Linked DNA regions of Homo sapiens: region 1 is linked to region 2. The links are contacts of gene promoters, found by promoter capture Hi-C in blood cells and fetal thymus (Javierre and others, 2016). All regions are on one chromosome and are shown on one strand. The core of a region is centred on a gene start or on the middle of the fragment in contact, and the rest is flanking DNA. Distances in the headings are between cores, read along the strand shown. Region 1 has its middle 23 kb from the start of SCG3. Region 2 holds the start of TMOD3 (tropomodulin 3).

Region 1 (2,700 bases), core at 39-2,538, 170 kb after region 2:
CAATAGTAAAAACAATGACTCTTGTTTGTTGTGCATCTTTTATTTACTTCATTTTTCTACTAATTAATTTTTATTTTATTTCACAACTGTAACTTTCTGCAATGGATTGGGGAAAAACTGTTCCTTCACCACAGGTGGAGAAACACTGACCCAATGCCCACTACATACTGAAATTTTCCCAATTATTCCCAATAATGTTATTTTTAGTTGGTTTGCTCAAACCATTTGATTATTGTATCTCTTAAATTCTTGTACTCTAGAACAGTCTTCCCTTCCCCGCTTCTTTCTCTCATGCCATTGACTTGTAAAGAAACCAGGCCAAGAAGGAGGATATTGAATGTTTCCAACATAAAGAAAGGATAAATATTTGAGATGATGGATATGCTAATTACCGTAATCTGATTGCTATGAATTATTTTTATCAAAACATCACTATATACCCCATGAATATGCACAATTATTATTTTCTAATAATTTTTTTAAAGACACCAGGTCAATTGTCTTGTAAAGTTACCTTCTCCTTAAAAACCCCATTCTGGTTTGTTTGATTGCTTTCTCAATATTTTTTCCCAGCCTGTGGCTTGCTTTTTCATTTTCTTTTCTCTTGAAAAACAGATTTTAATTTTGATAGTCTAGTTTACTGATTTTTGTCTTTTATAGTTTGTGACTTTTGAGTTATATTTAAGGTAGCCATAGGCCAAAAAAAATCCTCCAACCTCACACCATATGCTAAAACTAACTCAAAATGAATAATAGGCCTAAATGTAAAAGCTAAAACTATAAAAAATCCAGAAGAAAACATAAGAAAAAATCTTGCCCTTGTATTTGGCAAAGATTTCCCCAGGTTATTTGGATGAGCTGCCAGGATTGAGAACAACTAATTCATTTCTGATAGCAACCCAGGTCAATGTGACTTAAGAGGAAGTTTCTTAAGTTTCAGTGTTTCTTAAATATTAATGTATATGTTACTGGTGGAGGGTCTTGACGAGTCATCTAGGTTCTTGGTGTTTTGAACAAGGAATTGGACAAAACACACAAACAAAGCAACAAAAAACCAGATGAACGAAAGAAGCAATGAAAGCACAGATGTATTGAAAGGAAAGTACACTCCACAGAGTGGGAGTGGCTTAAGCAAGAAGCTCAAGAGCACCTGTTGCAAAATCTTCTGGGGTTTCATTACTCTTTAGAGGTTTCCTATTGGTTACACCCTATGTAAATGAAGACATGGCCCACAAGCAATCAGAGGCTGAAGTGGAGTTATGCCCTGTGAAAATGAAGACTTGGCCTGCGACCAATCAGAGGCTGAAGTGAAGGTTCCCTGTCTCCAGACCTTATTCTCTTGCTTCATATATACATATCACCTGTTTTTCTAAAAAAAACAAAACCAAACTATTTAGTAAGTCTTGGAATTGCCTTACCGCTGGTCTTTATTTTTATTTATTTATTTACTTTTTTGAGACAGTCTCCCTCTATTGTCCAGGCTGGAGTGCAGTGGTGCAATCTCAGCTCACGGCAACCTACACCTCCCCGCTCAAGTGATTCTCATGCCTAAGCCTCCCGAGTAGCTGGGACTGTAGATGCGTGCCACCATGCCCAGCTAATTTTTATATTTTTTTGTAGAGACGGGGTTTTGCCATGTTTCCCAGGCTGGTTTCGAACTCCTGGCCTTAAGTGATCTGCCTGCCTCAGCCTCCCAAAGTGCTGAGATTAGAGGGGTGAGCCACCCCACCCAGATTTCTCTGGTCTTTTTGTTATGTGGAGACATTATTTAAACTTTAAGCCACTTTTAGTTGGGTGTACAACACTCATCTGTAAGCATCTTAACAGTCATGTTTTTATAATCTCATTTTTAATGTCTACAAATAGCTCACTGAGTGGGTGTATCACACTTCTTTTTAAGAAAAGAATCACTTTCCTTCATAGACTTCTAGGAGGGACTTTACTGAATCAAAGAGTATAATAATTTTATGATTTCTTGTTTATATTGCCAAATTTCTTTCCAAAGAGTTTGTATCAAAAACTGTCCACTCTCTTGATATGAAATACAAATCAATTTAGGTTAAAATATCAATTAAAAGGGAAAATAAATAAAACCATTTATTCATAAATAACATGTGTGGGAGACCAGAATACACCACCACAAATATGCCTCTGGCATAAGGATTGTTGAGCTAAAGGTAATTAAGAAACAGTAGGTGCAGGAAAACTTTCTATCATCCCTATATTTCCATAGAAGCAGAACATACCTTGACAAAGACAAGAGGTATGACCCCATGCTCCACACACATACACTTTCTACCAGAGAGAACAAAAGTTAACCATTGAAAACAACTGTAGACCCTTATGGGTCTGGAGACGGCATCAGAGAGCTCTACATTAACAAGCATTACTGGCCGGGCCCGGTGGCTCACGCCTGTAATCCCAGCACTTTGGGAGGCTGAGGCAGGTGGATCACGAGGTCAGGAAATCGAGGCCAGCCTGGCTAACATGGTGAAACCCTGTCTCTACTAAAAATACAAAAAAATTAGCCGGGTGCAGTGGTGGGCGCCTGTAGTTCCAGCTACTCAGGAGGCTGAGGCAGGAGAATGGCGTGAACCCGGGAGGCAGAGTTTGCAGTGAGCCGAGATAGCACCACTGCACTCCAGCCTGGGTGATAGAGCGAGACTCTGTCAAAAAAAAAAAAAAAAGTATTACTAACTG
Region 2 (2,700 bases), core at 13-2,512:
TAAGAAAGGGGACTGTAACTATTATGATTGCTGACTCTTAAAGGTGAAAAGGTGCCTAGGAAGAAGAAACTAGCAAGAGTAAATGAGACTTGGCAAAGCTATTTTTCCAAGCCTAATATATTTTTGACGGGCCAATTAATCAATTTAATCTGCCAAAAAAATTAATCTGAAGGTTTCTCAGAAAAGGAGAGGAGACATGAGCTGCATGAAAATGTTACAAACCAAGGGAGGCTGCACATAACTAACTTAAATCTCCACAGGCTTATTTCCTGTTGAAGTATGGCCTCCTGGGGTAAGTTTTACTGCAGTGTTCATTGCCAGATGACTTTTGGTTTTAACAGAGGCCAAGGGCAAGTTGGAAATGCGATTCTTAACTAAACATTAAAAAGAAAAAAAGAAACTGTGGCTGTTTCCCATTTCTGTTTGTAATCAGAATGCAGGCTTGCGGAGGAAACACACCATCCCCCGCAAGCAAAAATATAACGACACAGTCACGTCCTCAAAACAAACTAACACACAAACTTCCCAGCCGGATCCAGCTGTGCTGCCTGGGAGCTAGGAACTTAATTCTAAGAGCAGACAGATCAAACCGGTGAATGCAAGGGCAGCCACATTTCAATCACAAAAAGGGTGTGCCCTAAGTTTTGGCTCCCCCACTCCGCCGCCCCACTTTCAACAAGCCGAAGCCTTTGAAGGAGGCTCGGTGCCATCTCGGTGTGATCGCGTCCCGGCGACGCTGGGTAGGGTGCAGGGAGCCAGCTCGGCCGCGGCTCAGCGGGAGGGGAGGGGGCCGGTCCCGAACCCGGGCGCCCGGGCCGCGGGTGATTCACTGGGAACGCCAGGTTCGCGCGCCTAGACCGGCGGGCGACGCCCAGCGCGCCCCACGTCCCCCGCCCGGGCCGTTCGCGCAGAAGCAGCCCCCGCGCACCCCTGCTCCCCGAGACGGACCCGTCGGGAAGGAGCCTGGAGTCGGGCGGCCGGCGGGCAGCAACCTCTCCCTCCTCAGCCACCATGGCCGGTGCGACTCCCTACCCGCGCCCGCAGACGGACTTCCTGGAAAGCACCGGGCTGGGCTTACCTGACTGGCGCCCGCAGGGGCCGCCGACCTCTTCACAGACCCACGGAAACTGCCGGCCGCAAGCCGAGGCTCGGTTCCCAGCACCCGCCGGTCCGCCCGCGTCGGCCTCCCAAAGAGTTGCCAGACCCACCCGCCAGCAGCTCCCTCACTCGACCGCCCTGTAGGTGCGGTGGGTTCCTCCTTCGCCTCCGACGCGCGTGCGCACTCCCGTGCCGCGGGGCATCCTGGGAGTTGTAGTTCTAGCAAGAAGGGCGAGGCTCAACGCTGACCCTGGTCTTTACAATGGGCAGAACGTAGGAAGGGGACTGCGAATACCAACCCTTATCCCAGTCTAAGATAATGTTCTCTACCCGTGGAAGTACCTACTATGGACTTCCCCGAAGCTGGAAATAGTATCTAGAGGCTCTTTGGTATAGATTTCCTTTTTACTTTGACCTTTTGTAAAGAAGCGCACATGGCAGGGCTTGCATTGTAGCCTTGGTTGTTAATGCGAGGACATGACATTGGGGCCTTTAAACTGGTCATGACAGAGTTATAGAAAAGTAAAGGAATAAAATCTAAAGCCCAAGAGAGGCATAAATCATGCGAATGTCACCTCCAGGGTGTGGTGACCTTAGTGGTTTTCTTAGGTATGCGTTTCGGGGATGATGTAGCTATTGCAGGGCAGTTTCTGCCCATCCTATCTTCCCTTTCCATCTTCAAGCTCTACACCAGGCGGTGGGGCTGGCTGCTGTAGTGGGAGAAAAAACAGAATAGGCTGCTCAAGGGGGGGATTGGGGCAGATGGGTAGTCTAGAGGGAAGAGGAAGAGTGTGGGAATCTCTCAGAGGACTGTTTGACAGTGGCCTATGTAATGGCTACCTTTTGTGCGAGGCTCTGAGGAGAGGGAACTGCGACATTTTTCCATTTATTCATTTAGTCACTTACTGGGAATTTTCCTGGCCTGCTCTTCAGGAGTAGACCATCCCCAGGAATAATGCTAAACTTTGACACACCTTTCAAAAATGCAGCCAAAGAAGTGGACTGACGTGCCTGCTTGAGGTACATTCCAGCTACACCCAGTGTGCGAGCCACTTCATGGTTTAAACCTCTCCTGGCATCTACTTCTTCCCCTCAGAGGAGGGAGGACCCTAGGTTAGATAAACATCCTGGAATTTCATGCAACTGGCACCCACTAATTTCAGCAATGGAGATCACTGATGGTTTAGGTTTTTAAGGGAAAAAAACCCTTCTTTTTTTTTTTCCAAGACAGAGTCTTGTTCTGCCGCCCAGGCTAAAGTGCAGTGGTGTGATCTCGGCTCACTGCAACCTCTGCCTCCCAGGTTTAAGTGATTCTCTTGTCTCAGCCTCCCAAGTAGCTGGGATTACAGGCACGTGCCACCACACCCAGCTAATTTTTGTAGTCCTAGTAGAGATGGGTTTTCACCATGTTGGCCATTCTGGTCTTGAACTCTTGACCTCATGATCTGCCCACCTTGGCCTCCCAAAGTGCTGGGATTACAGGCGTGAGCCACCGTGCTTGGCCAGGAAAAAACCCTTCTCAATTGCAAATACTTAGAGGACAGTCAACACTCAATCTTGTGGCCATTGCATTTTATTTTCTATACCATCTTTGGGTCAATC

The links. Contacts are between HindIII fragments. The CHiCAGO score rates a contact against its expected background, and 5 or more counts as called.
Region 1: a fragment that was not itself captured here is called in contact with the fragment with the promoter of TMOD3 in region 2 in 2 of 17 cell types (neutrophils and M1 macrophages); the score reaches 5.7 in neutrophils.

What each region holds. Positions count from the first base shown.
Region 1 is chr15:51,657,345-51,660,044 of GRCh38, reverse strand. No RefSeq gene overlaps it. Among named protein-coding and RNA genes, the nearest start is that of SCG3, 23 kb to the left of the region's middle. The HindIII fragment of the contact is 9,807 bases long and covers 1-2,700 here.
Region 2 is chr15:51,828,215-51,830,914 of GRCh38, reverse strand. TMOD3 (tropomodulin 3) reads right to left here and starts at 1,262. Exons shown (of 10, transcript NM_014547.5): 1 at 1,079-1,262. RefSeq lists silencers at 703-982, 1,203-1,357. The HindIII fragment of the contact is 7,100 bases long and covers 1-2,700 here.